2 separate regions of the Homo sapiens genome follow, and region 2 is linked to region 1. The links are contacts of gene promoters, found by promoter capture Hi-C in blood cells and fetal thymus (Javierre and others, 2016). All regions are on one chromosome and are shown on one strand. The core of a region is centred on a gene start or on the middle of the fragment in contact, and the rest is flanking DNA. Distances in the headings are between cores, read along the strand shown.

The links. Contacts are between HindIII fragments. The CHiCAGO score rates a contact against its expected background, and 5 or more counts as called.
Region 2: a fragment that was not itself captured here is called in contact with the fragment with the promoter of MXI1 in region 1 in 1 of 17 cell types (naive CD8 T cells); the score reaches 5.6 in naive CD8 T cells.

Annotation. Positions count from the first base shown.
Region 1 is chr10:110,202,957-110,209,865 of GRCh38, reverse strand. It overlaps MXI1 (MAX interactor 1, dimerization protein), which reads right to left and starts at 2,261. Exons shown (of 6, transcript NM_130439.3): 1 at 1,784-2,261. The coding sequence starts at 2,057. RefSeq lists a silencer at 2,011-2,090 and an enhancer at 3,680-4,180. The HindIII fragment of the contact is 6,685 bases long and covers 1-4,023 here.
Region 2 is chr10:114,517,014-114,523,938 of GRCh38, reverse strand. The region is part of intron 6 of ABLIM1 (actin binding LIM protein 1); the gene reads left to right. Among named protein-coding and RNA genes, the nearest start is that of AFAP1L2, 120 kb to the right of the region's middle. RefSeq lists an enhancer at 4,512-5,031. The HindIII fragment of the contact is 4,733 bases long and covers 1-4,005 here.

The sequences.
Region 1 (6,909 bases), core at 1,012-3,511:
TAGTCAGAGCCAACGCCACGGGACAGACTCCAGAGAACTGGTAGCCGGGGATGGGGGTAGCTGAAGAAATCGCGCCCCTCCCCCCTGCAACAAAAGCAAACACACCAAACAAAACCACGTCTTCACCCAGCTCCCCACCAGCTCTGGCTTTTCAGAAACTACCCTCCAGACAAATGCACACATAGCTTCCCGCGCCCCATCCCCCTCCGACCAGCATGAATAATTGCGAAGCGATTCGGCTGCACAGCCTGCGATGCGCCTTTCTCGCAACCCAGGCACTCCGGGAAAACAGGCGAGAAGAGAAAGAAAAGAACGCACCACCGACCTCACAACACAAATCCTCGTTTTGGCCTTACAGCGTCTGCACAATTGCGCTGCCAACACACGGTTCCTTTAACCCTGAAGACCTGGGGTATCAGTCAGCAATGGTGTTTTTGTGTCTGAGGGTTGTTGTGTTGGGTGGGGGGAAGGTTGCAAGATCTGACACGTTGCAATCGGGACCTTTCTTCTTTCTTTCTCTCTCTCTCACACACACACGCGCACACGTACACACACACACTCGCGCCTCATTGATCTTCCTACTTGTTCGGACACATTAAACATCCCGGTTTCCCCCTATCTGTCGGTCTGTCTGCCTAGTTCCCTTCCTCCTTTTCACAGCTATTATTCTGAGGACGGTGCTGGATACGCTGCACACGCGTGCCCCCGTTAGGGCGCTGAGTCGACTGCCTGGGGAAAGCTGGGTGACCTGGCTGGTAGGGGCAAAAATGAAACAAATAAATACAAAAAAGAAGCCAGGCCAGGGTGGGGTTCCCAGCACACCCCCACCCACGCACTACTATCCACGTGAATCTGGGGGTGGGCGGGTGGGGGGAGTAGAAATCGACCAGGAAGGCGTTTGCCTTGCTTGCCCTGTGCGCTCACTCAAGAGCCGTCTCCCGGAAAATAAAGAAAAAGCACAGAACAGCCCACACCTTCTTCCCCAACTATTGTTTCTCAAAGATCCCAAAGTTTCCTTCTAGCCGCGTCCCCACGGCCAAGTTTCCCGGGCTCAGGACGGCGTGTCCGGGGCGAGCTGCTGGCGTTGCTTGGCCCCGCCGGCCTCCTTCTTTGGGGGGGGGGGGGCGGCGGTGGCACCCCACGGCAACGGACGTGCAGGGGGACTGTGTCCGTAGACGTGATGGCCTGAGCCCAGTCCTGCTGCTAGAGGGAAGGAAAAAGGCGAAGTAGGAGGGAGAGAGAGAGACAGAGCCGAGCCCACGCCGTGGAGAGCTGTTTGGTTGTTATTGTTGTAGTGTGTGTCTGTGTGTTTTCTTTCTGGAACCTCTGAGCTCTGCCTATGGTTTCCAACTTTCGGCTTCTAATCCCCACCCCACCCAGGAACGAGCAACAGAAAAACAACACTTGTCTGCCTGAGAAGGCTCCGGAAAAAAAAAAAAAAAAAAGGAAGAAAAGCGACCTCAAAGAGATGAGCTCTCGGCTCAGTTGTCAGCAAACAACAACACTCCCCCGCTCCTCCGCTGGGCCATCCTCCCAGCCCCAGCCCGCCGGAGAGGACAGACCGACGCACCGACAGGCCCCTCTCCCCCTCGCCCGTCTTTGTTACATCTTTAGCAGCTTTGTGCGTGCGTGTCCTTTCTCCGGTGTCATCGGCTTTACTGCCAAGGGCTGGATGTGTATGTTGGGCGGGGGGGGGACGGGCCGAGCTCGCAACAGGGGTCGCCCAAGTGGGCGAGAAAGAAAGAACCGGGCGCCGAGGAAGAGCAGGGGCCCCCAAACTTACTTTTGTTTTCTTTCTCGATCTGCTCCAGGTAGCTGGCGGCCTCGAGCAGAATCTGCACGTTCTGCAGAAAAGTGTTGATGTGCTTCTCCATCGAGTTCTCGCTGGTGTTGAAAATGTCTGAGAAGGGGCACCTGGGCTTGGCCCCAGCGGGGTCCTCGGGCAGGGCCGGGGGCTGGGGCGCGGCCACGGCGGGGGGCACAGCCGGGGGCGCGGCGGGGGCCAGCCCCGCGCCCTCGCAGCGCGCCTCCTTGCGCGGCCGCCCGCGTTTGCCCATGGAGGAGCGGGGGTCCGCCGAGCTCGTCCTCTAACGGGGCTGCGCGGCCCGGCCGAGCTCCGGGCCCCCAGGGAGACCCGGCCGGCTGGAGCAGAGAAGGCGCCGGGGCGAAAAGCCGGCCTGACTTCCCGAGCCTCGCTGCCTGCAGTTGTGTGTGTGAGTGTATGGGAGTGTGTGTCGGTCTCGCTGTGAGTCTGTGTGTATGGGAGATTGAATGAACCTACAGGACAGACGGAGGCACTCTGGCGCCTGGGTCCTAGTGCGAGCCTGTCGCCATCGGACCGGTCAAAATAAAAGGTGGAGACTAGCGAGCGAGGCAGGGACCGCCCCTGCCCGTCCCCGCAGGCTTCCCTGCCTCTCCCCAAGGCTTACCACAGAGTAGAACACTGTCTTTTAACCGGAATGGAAAAAAATACCTGATGTCTCTGGGTGCACCTGCATAAAAACAAACTACTTTTTTCACAGAAAAATAATGCCTCAGAAAGTGTCCAGCACAATGCCTGGCACATAGTTAGGTCCCCATACATGGTGGCTGCTATGACTTAAAAATAAATAAATAAAAGCTCCCCAATCCAAATGGGAAGAAGGGAACCAGTGTGTAACCAGAAGATCCCCCCACCCCCAACACAAACACTCCTACTCACAGACACACATACATACGTAATCACGCACACACTTGCGAGGCACCTGTGTGTGCCTTCACACAGTCAAATGAAATCCCAGGCCGTCCAAATCCGAGTTACAGATTTACTCATGCCTTTCTCCCTTCAAATGCAAAGTTATTTTCCAGAAGTGGGAGGAGATGTCAGCATCCCTCTCCACACTCCTCTGCCCAGCCTTGGTTCAGCTGTGCAAAGCTCACACCAGGATGCCTCCACACCTGGCTCCCTTTAATTTGAGAGGCAGAAGTGGCAGCTCAGGAACCACCCCCCTCCCCAGCTGAATTCCACCTTTTGCCTCTGAAAACCCCTACCCCAGCTGACATTGTTTCACTGCCACTGCTGTCCGCAATCATGGATGCTTTCCAGCCCTGGGAAGTACTGGAGGTGTCAGGGGATGATTGAAGGCTGCTCTAGGGTGCCATAGGAAAGGGTTCAAATCCCAGCTCTGCTGCATACAGACTGTGTGAGCTTGGACAAGTCCCTTAACCTCTCTTGGCCTAAGTTTCCACATCATTGAAATGTGTGATAAGATGCTTGTGTATTGTATCTGACTTAGCACACTCTGGCCCATGGTAAGCTCTTTTTCTTCCAATCCAGACCCAGGCAAGAGCCTGAGTCCCCTATTCTGATGTAACTTGTATCTAAGAAAGGAACAAGATGTAGTGAACAAGACTCTTCTGCACTTCCTTGGAAAATATCTCTATGACAAGCCCATCTAAATATGGTTACTTTGCAAGGTCACCTGGAGTTTTCCTCCAGGGGAACCATTTATATAGAGGACAAAGACAATGCTGCCCCCTGGAGGTGTGCGATGCAGCCACCCTACTCAAAGGCAGCTTCATACACATTGTCATAAAAACTCTTGATGGCCGGACGCAGTGGCTCACGCCTGTAATCCCAGCACTTTGGGAGGCCAAAGCGGGCAGATCACCTGAGGTTGGGAGTTCGCGACCAGCCTGACCAACATAGAGAAACGCTGTCTCTACCAAAAATACAAAATTAGCCGGGCGTGGTGGCGCATGCCTGTAATCCCAGCTACTCCGGAGGCTGAGGCAGGAGAATGGCGTGAACCCGGGAGGCGGAGCTTGTAGTGAGCCGAGATAGCGCCACTGCACTCCAGCCTGGGCGACAGAGCCAGACTCCGTCTCAAAAAAAAAAAAAAAAAAAGTTTATCTTCCATTATTAGAACAATTACTGATTTTTTGCTTCTGTGAGAACCACAACCTGAGTTATTCGTGTTGAAATGCCTGTAAACATCTAAAAATGTTAGGAAGACCTCATGTATGCACAGTTTCAAACAAGCTTTCTCCAATGCCATTTTGCAAAAACTGGCCCTTGTGTGAAACAGCTCTGATCTCTCTTGCCCCAAATGAAAGATGGTACTGAGACAATGAACCAGCTAAGCCCAGAGAAAACCTTGCTTTCTCTTTAATTGCCCATTGGTGGCATGGGTCAGATGTATAGTACTGCAACATACATGCACCACCAAGACAGGCACACGCATGCATGAGTGCCATGGTGGGGGAAGGGTGTTTTGTAATTATTTATTTATCCCTGTTCCATCTCTCATAGGTCTGCGAGTTTCAGAAAGCCCAGTGGGAATCTTCAAGCTGGGCCACGGATCTGACCAAAGCCAAAATAAACAATGGCTTGAAGAAAATCTACAAAAAAGTGCTGATTTGCACTATTCCCACAGTCGGCCACAGCCCCCACCATCATTCCCATGGAAAACACCACGGCTGGTGCCAAATCAAGTTTTCCCCCCATCATAGGGGCATTGTTTTTTGTTATTATGTGAGTTCTTAGCATCAGACAATGGCACCACAAGAGACACAGTGGAAGCAGGAGAAATGCCTTTTTGTTTCACAAAGTCTGTGTTACTGTGCCCCCAGAGTCTCGCATATAGTTTAGTTGCATATATTCATTTTGGTAACACGTATGTGGAACGACGAATGTGCCAAGCTAAAGCCCGAAGCCCCCTCCTTATTTGTTTTCAGAGCCCATCAAGTGTTAAATCATATTAACATCCCATTGCTCTCTCCCTTCTCCCGCTCCGTTCCCCAATTAACAGATTTCTCTAATAAAGTTGGCCCCAACAGAAAGAGTGGTGTTTCAGGGGTTATATCACAGGACAGGCATCCAGGATGCTGGGTTACAAGCTCAGCTCCATTCCCGATTAGATTTGCTTCCCAGGAGGAGCCATTCAAACCCTTTGCAACCCCCCCTTTCTTTGGGGTTTTGATTCCAGAAGTAAACAGGCCCCTTTGGAAATGCTGAGAATTTCTGCATAGAACAGGTAGGGGATGTGAATACAGCCATTCTGATGAGAACACATGTGAACTCTTTGAAAGAAAAGCAGAAATGCCCAATGAAGTCAGCTAGAATGCTCTCAGAGGGCCCGGGATATCTTGGGTGCCCAGTCGGCCTGGGTCCTGCTTTCCCAACACTCTGTTCATTTGTTTGTTTGGCTTATTTGCTTGTTTGGCAATACCTTTCCATGGACCTTGTTTGTATATTAAAGCAAGATTGTTCTTTCTTTTATTTGCCCCTTTCCCCCCAGACGTTCTATACTCTTACATCAAAGGAGTTGTTTGGCCTATAATTATGTCTTTATGTACACAGAGGCTGGTTAATTACTGAGAAGGCGATGGATGCGTTGCCATCGAAACCTACCCACCTTGCATTGGGATGGGATGCTCTTCCCTCTGTCATGGACCATTTTGGCTCTCTTGGGTTCCTTAGCCTTGCTCTTCCTGCCTCATCTATTCCCCACTCACCAGCCTTTTCTGCCTAAATCCGTCACTCGTCCACCCTCTAGTTTCTCCTTGGACCTTGCCAAAATGTCCTAGTCAGATTCTTTCTTACTCTTTGCCCTGTGATCTTTGTACTCAGACTTGGCAAACACCATGAAGAGCTCTTCTGTCCCCTCCCTTGTCACTTGAGTCCTAATTCTCAGAGCTTTCCCAGCCACAGTTTTCCTGGGTACCTTTCCCTTTTGGAAAGGAATCATCTGGCAGTGAGATGAGGAACTGGCTCACAGCTCCTTCTCCTTGGGGGCCTGACTCTTGCTTTCATTTGTTAGAAAGGAGTGGCCCTGTAGAAGGCCCAAGAATAGAGGGTTAGGAACTGTAAGACACAAGCAGAATGGTAGGAACAAGGAGAACTGTGAGACTCTGCCTCTCCCATGGCCTAAAAGTGCTGACCAGGCCTCCTCTAACCACTGCCCATACCACCCACCACCACCCACACACTCACCAGTGGGTATAGACATGGGCAGGGGATAAGTAGCCTCCGCCCTACAGTGGAGTTCACTGGGTGTCACCTGCTCCTGGAGGCATTATCTCAGCTCTCCTGGACTCTGCCCTCCTTTCTCCCAGAACTGTGAGTCTGGCAGCCTCTTCCTGGTTCAGCAGACTCCTGGGCTTCTCCTGTCCAACACCCAGTACTTAGAGGGCTTATTAGACTATGAGCTCATCAAGGGCAGGAAGCACACCTTGCTCCTCCTAGCATCCCCAGGCCCTGGCACCTAGCACATGCATGGCATAATACTGGGGCTTAGGTCACGAGTCAAAGGCATGAATGCCCTTCCCTGCCTGGTCAGAGCCTCGGTGCCGGCCGTTCATGGCTTCTCGTTCCAGTGGTGAGAAGAGGCATTTGATGCTGTCTGCAAAACTATTCCTGAGTCACTCACATTAAAGTTTAAATATCTAAATGCTGTCTCCATGGAGAAGCCAGAAACCCATTGAGCCAGATGGTTGAGGTTCCATTACAAAAAAGTGCAGAGACTCAGCTGCCCTGTCCCCTGTCCTTACTGCTGGTGACAGATCTGGTGACAAGATGGGTCTCCTGTGTTATAAGATGCCTCTAATGAAGAATTTTCAGAAATCACCAGGCGGTGAAGGCAGTGGCCTGAGACTAAATTAGAAGTCAGATGGAGCTTTTCTCACATCTCCCCCATTCTAGAGTGTCTTCTCAGTCTTTCAGGCCCCAGTTCTTTAACATCTCCATATTTTTTAATTAATTCAGCAAAAGTCTCTAAATTTATGTACATTAAAGTGGCAGGTATCAGTGACTGACTAGCTTAAATATGACTTTCCCTGGAGGCGTTTGGAATTAAAGATGACCAGTGCCTTAAGCTTTAAGGAATAAAATTCTAATGGTAAAATATTAGGCATCAAGAGATGAAGGGG
Region 2 (6,925 bases), core at 390-2,889, 4.3 Mb before region 1:
CGTAATTAAAATTCACCCTCTCCCCCCATTCAGTAGACCAAAGATCCCTGAGTGCAGCAAATGTGAGCATTTTAGGTCTATTTGCCCCCAGGATATAGCACAGTGCCTGCTCATACTATTTGCTCAGTCATTGATGAACAGACAAATGAATGTCAATGATTTCTATGGAAAGACCACCCAGGAGCTTGGTCAGCAAGCCACATGTCTGCAGCCTGTGTCCATATTTCTGTAATTTTTTAAAGAGGACAAATCCAGTCACCATCTAAGCAGGTTTTAATGTCTGAGGGGCTACCAGAAAACTCTTTGAAGGATGCAGGAAGAGTGGGTCTGTGGGTTGTAGAATTTGGGCCTTCATAAGGCCCAGAAATTAAATTTCTGCTCTTATTATAAACCCCACAGGTTAATGCTTCTTCATGGTTTCAATAAGATAAAGAGCACACTAACCATAGGGTCTGACCCAAAGGCAAGGTATTTACCACCTCTTTAAGAAAACTCGCCAGTTGAAAGAGCTTATGATCAGAGGTGAAAAAACGGCCCTTGTTGATCTATGTGTCCTGTGGGGAGTCAGGTGGTGCTGCCCAGAGAACCTACCTGGTTCTCTGAACCAGGTTATCAGGGCAAGGGGGGTGCAGATGGGGCAGATGTCTTGAAATTGGAAGTTTCCAGACTGTGCAGAATGTAAAGATGCCGTAGTGAGAGACAGAGAAGCCAAAGATCCTCTCAATCTCTTGCTTTGGTTCACAAACCAACCCCAGCTCCATGGATTTTTTTGTTTTGTTTTGTTTTTTGAGATGGAGTCTTGCTCTGTCACCCAGGCTGGAGTGCAGTGGTGCAATCTTGGCTCACTGCAACCTCCACCTCCTGGGTTCAAGCGATTCTCCTGCCTCACCCTCCGAGTAACTGGGATTACAGGTGTGTGCCACCATGCCCGGCTAATTTTTTGTGTTTTTAGTAGAGATGGGGTTTCACCATGTTGGCTAGGCTGGTCTTCAACTCCTGACCTCAAGTGATCCACCCGCTTCAGCCTCCCAAAGTGCTGGGATTACAGGCGTGAGCCACCGCACCTGGCCTAGCTACATGCTTCTAAGCAGAGCCCTGGGAATGAGCAAGCGTGAGCCTTTCTTGTACCTTAAGCTGCAGAGGCTTAAGGTGCAGCCTTTGACGGGAGGGGACCTTCATCAAAGAGGAAACAAACCCTGCTGCTTTATTATTCGCCAAGCCTGGAATGTTTTTAGCAAATACGTGTTTGTGTCCTTCTCAGCATTGCTGGTTCACACTGAGGCCATTTGTTGCTCATAAACACTAGATGAAGCAAAAATACTTGTTTACACTTAAGACTGCTTTTATCTTTCCTTACTGCTGAATAGTAATTTTTTACTAGATTGTCTTGGTTCTGTGCAGCTGGTTCCTTATGTCTGTGCTCATATCCGTATACCTTGTCCAAATAAACATACTTGAAAACATAGAGAATTGTGTTTTGTGAAGTTTAGAACATCCTCTAACAGAGTTTAAGCTGAGCTTTCTGCTTTGTTTTGGCAACTTGTTTAGGATGCCAAATGTATCTGGTCTGGCAACAGATGAAAGAAGATGTTGGCCCTTATATAACGAAGTTTAGGGAATAAGTGGGGGGTGGGGTGGATTGCCAGGTTTCCTTTGTGGTTTGAAAAGAGTTCTAAAGCATGAGGAAAACATGTGTTCGACTGGGTTTTTGTTTTGCCTTTAAACCTTGGAATTTTGAAAATCTGTTGAAATATCTTCTCCTGGCTTATGCAGCCCTCTGAGATTAAGTTTCTGATTACCTACATCTTCCCTCCTCTTTCATTCCAGCCCTGCTAGCCTTCTTTCTGCCCCTCAAGCACAGACACTGTCCATCTCTGGGCTTTCACTGCTCCCTGAGCCTGGCACATTCTTCCTCCAGATCTTGGCTTCCTTCTCATTATTCAACCTGCCTCTTTTGACTTGGAGAGGTATCCTCTAATCACCTAGCTAAAGTTGCTTCCACCTGCCCAACCCCTAGGCCATCTTCTCTCCCCTGGTTCTGTTTTAGGTTCTTCATGGCACTGTTCCCCGACTATCTGGAATTCTTATCTGCTTGTATCCATGTCTAGTATCTGTCACTCATTGCAAGAATGTATGCTTATGACAGGTACTATCATATCCCCGAAACTAAAACATCATCTGATAGAAGGTTGGTGCCCAATAAGAGGATGAGTGGATGGATAGAAGGATGGATGAATGGGAGGGAAAAGGAGAGGGAAGGAAGGAAAGAAGGAGCGGGGAAAGGAGGGGGGTTGACTACCGAGTAAATTTCTACTCTCTTTTAAGTCTAAGAGCTTCTCTCCTGTGATTCCTCTTTGACTCCCCAAGACAGTAGCCTTGGAGAATTTTCTCCCCACACCCACCTCACTTTGTACATTACACTAACCATCTTATCCAGTTACAGTCACCTGTTTGCTAAGCTCTGCATACTAAGCTCTTGAGGACAGGAATGTGTAATAAAGGTGGTTATGGTTGTAATTATTGTTTGTTCTTATTGCCTTAGCACTTTATAAGCATACTTCATCAAAGTCCTTTCATCAACTCTATGGCTTGAGTATGACTCTCATCTTTGTTTTGCAAGTAAGTAAACTGAGGCCCAGAGCAGTTGCCGAAAGGCGTACAGATGATTACTGCAGGGCCAGGAATTGAATACAGATTTCTTCTTGGTAGCGCAGATTATACAGCCTTTCTTTCCTCCTCATCAGGTGTCCAGTGCCTGACCCACAGGTTCATCACAGGCTTTTGCCAAATGAATGAAACCTAAGACCTCACCTCCTCCCTTCTCATCCCTATTATTTGAGCTTATACATATTATTTATACTATTTATAAACATAAACATGAGCCTATCAGTTCATAATCCAGTGACATCTCTAAGGATAACTAGCTGCTGTATCTTAAGTCACTTATTTTTATTGTTTTTTTAGAAACAGGGTCTCACTCTGTTGTCCAGACTGGAGCACAGTGGCACAGTCATAACTTACTGCAGCCTCAAACTCCTGGGCTCCAGAGATTCCCTGCCTCAGTCTCCTGAGTCCCGGGACTACAGGTGCATGCCATCATGCCCAGCTAATTTTTTTTTATTATTATTTTTTAGAGACAGGGTCTCACTATGTTGCCCAGGCTGCTCTCTTAACTCCTGGCCTCAAGTGGTCCTCCTGCCTTGGCCTCCTGAAGTGCTGGGATTACAGGCATGAAGCACCACACCCAGCCTACGTCATTTTTCTTTCTTTCTTTTTTTTCTTTTTTTAACCGATAGGACGTCATTGATTGCTTAAACCCTCTCATTCTTCTTATGTAAACAAATCTATTAGTCAAAAGTTAAGCAGCTGCTGAGTCACATGGCACTTTAATCCAGGGTTACAATTGGCAGCCCTGGGAATGAGTTCTCCTTTTTTTAGCTCCCACGATGGCACTGATTTCCCCTAGAATATGAAACTTACACCAAGGAAACCACCATGACAACTGTAGGTAGCAATTTCAAGCAGAAAAGACTAGGAAAATGCCTAAGAATTTTAAACCTGACAGAGTTCTTCTACATTTTTAATATAACCAAGTGCTGTTCATCACCTGCCTTGACACCGGTGTTTGTGAGGTTGATTGGCCCCAGGATGTTCCACTGCAGAACAGAAGGCCAAGATCAGAAGCCCTTGTCGACATATAAATGTAATGCTGTAAGCTGGCTTGGAGCTGTGACTCCATGGAGCCAATTCTAAAATGATTAAGACTTCTGTCTATAGAGAGTTGAGGTGGAGACTGTTTACTATGGCCCTGCCCAGAGGCTTCAGCAGCTGAGGGTGTACCCTCTGCAGTGGGAGTCTTCAGGCATGAGCCTGAAGCCTGTGCTGGCCTCTAGGGATGGAGTCCCTTGTTGTCTTACAGCTTGAATTTTCCAGCACAGGACAACTCCAGATGACAGCTCCAACAGGGCAGAGGCTGCAGCCTTGCCAGACTGGTCCGTCAAAGCTTTCCTTGGCACATAATCCAGTTTCACCCAGGTTTGGGGGTAACCCAGCTGGTTCCTTTTTTCCTGGGTTGGTGGTGAGCTAAGCAGGGAGGTAGTACCCACAGGTTATTTATGGATGTCAAAAACTCAAAAGGCCCTCAGCACTGGGGGTAGGACCAGTGAGAAGTGCTCAACCATGGCATGTATGAGGGATCTGTGGGCGAACCCTGATGTGTCATTTGGCTCCTCTATCCATCACAAAGAGCAGGGACCCCTGAACCCTTTAACCATCCCTGAGCAAGATTGGAGGGATTTTTGCCCTTTTAATACAACTTCTTAAATGGCCTGATGGCCTTGGATGTACTCATTAATAAATATGTCTTGTGGTTTGCAATTTAACTGTCTGTGTGATGAGGATATTGGAAAGGAGTTTCTGACTGATTCATTGTTCACACTTGCCTCTCCCAGCCGAGGGATAATTGGGGCCTTGCCTAATCTGCACTCGCTCACACCCAACATGTGCTGGGCGGGGAAAAAAGGCTGCAACCTGGCCGGCTGGTTCCCGGACCTGGCCTTGCACCAACCAGGAAGATCTCTTCTCTACCTCCTTTTCTGTGTTCAAGGTGATACCTGCTTAGGACTCCCAGAAATATCATTAGCAGGAAAGTTCCACAGATTTAATCTAGTCTAAACCTCTGAGAGTTGAGGACACTGAGACCCAGAAAACCTGAGTGATTTTCCTAGGAACACACAGCCCATTGGTTAGTAAGGCAAAAGTAGACCTCAGAGCAGCTCAGTGCTTCTCTATCCCCTCTGCACCTCCCCCAGGCTGCCTCTTGAACTACTTCTCTGCTTGCTGTACAAACCAAAGCTATCTTTCAAAGTCTTTTGGAATATTAAAGCCATTACAGGGAGGCAGGGTGTGTGGGGATTGAGTAGATATTCAAAAGATTTTTGCTCAAACCTTTATTTCACTTTGTTTTTAAACAACTTCCCTTTCCCATGCCTATGGAGCTTTTCTTGTCTCATCCTAAAAACTCCCAAGTTCCCACCTGCTTCTAGGAAGATTGTTGATGATTGTCCAGGCATCCCCTGCCACTGTCTGAGCAGACAACTTCTAAAAGTTTTTTTTTTTAAGTAGTGTGAGCTCATCGTAAATAAATAAATGAATAACTGAGTAAGTACACTTGTTTGTACTTCTCTGAATCACATGTAATGGGCCAGATAGTACATATTTTCAGCCTTGTGGACTATGCTGTCTCTGTCTCAGCTACGTATGGGCTAAAGCAGACCTAGAGACTATGTAAATGAACAGACATGGTTCTGTTCCAATAAAGCTTTATTTACAAAAAACAGGTAGTGGGCCAGGTTTCACCTATGGGCTGCCAATCTTGGTATCAGGTAAAAAGTAAACATTCTCCACTTACTCCCTAAGCTTTATTGGCACAGGACCACGTCTGTTCATTTACATAGTCTCTAGGTCTGCTTTAGCCCATACCAGCCTTGAGTAGCTGAGACAGAGACAGCGTAGTCCACAAAGCTGAAAATATGTACTATCTGGCCCATTGCATGTGGTTCAGAGAAGTACAAAGAAGTGTACTTATTCAGTTATTTATTTACAATAAGCTCACATTACTTTAAAAAAACCCACTCCCAGAGGTAGCTATTGTTGAGAGTTGGGTCTATAGTGTCACTGGCATGCAGATACTTACAAATACGGGGTTGGATCATGTAAATTTTTTCATATAGGATGTAGAGTTCTGTATCTTGCTTTGCTCCTGTTTCTTGCACATAGATACCTGTGGGAGGGCATGTATTCTTTTATACAAATAGGACCGTTTTATGCATGTTGTTCTACAATTTCCTTCACTTGGCAGTAACTCAGTGTTGATGCTTATAGGATGATGACATTCTTTTTAATGACCACATAGTGGTAAAATCCTTTACCATACACTAAGAAAACATGACAAATACCAAAAAAAAAAAGTATGTGTGTAAATAACTACCAGCAGACACAGATGATGTCTTGTTCGTCTCACATGGTCCCATGTGTCTGGTGGGCACATCCACGGGGATCCATGTCAGCCCGTGCAGCGTTACTATGTTTCCAAAGGGGGTTTTGTTTCAGCCTAACTTTCTGCCAGCACAGCACCACATACAGGTGACGAGCTAATAAAAGATTTGCATGATGAGGAAGGTTTCAGACAAACTTTAGCTTCAACATTGTGGTTGATTATGAGGCAATTTCTGTGAAATCCTAAAAATCCCAAGTTTTTTGTCCTGCTGTGAACACAGTTTATCGCAAAAAAGTACAGACCCACATTGTACTGTGGCCCCCCTCCCCGCCCTTTAAAGTATGCGCTGTCGTTGATGCCTTGAATTCGTTCCTAAGGATATCATAGATCACCACAAACTTGGCAGCTCAAACATGACAGAAATGTATTCTGTCACATTTCTGGAGGCCTGAAGTTTGAAATCAAAGTGTTGTCGGTGTGGAGTGGGGGTTCTTCTGGGGGCTCTGCTGGAGGGTCTGCTTCATCCTGTCCCCTGGCTTCCAGTGCTGCAGCATCCTTGGTGCTGCGTGGCTTGGAGCTGCATCGCTCCAGTCTCTGCCTTCATCTTCATGTGGGTCCAGCTTGCCCTCTTGGTCAGTTTCCTTGTCTTGTCTGGTCCCGTCCTGTCCTGTATTTTGTAAAGACTTGTCATTGGATTCAGGGCCCACCTGAATCCAGGATGGCCTTCTCTCAACACCCTTACCTTAATTACATCTGCAAAGCAGGTTGGACATATCTTTGGGGGACCACAGTTCAACTCAGCCCATGCCCTCCCATCTAAAAATCGGAGTGCTTGCTCTTCCCTCTCAGGTTTTTCCTCCTGGAGGTGAGGAAAGGGGCAAAAGCCTTGTTCTTGTCGTAATCAACAGCCCTGCTCTTTGAGGATAA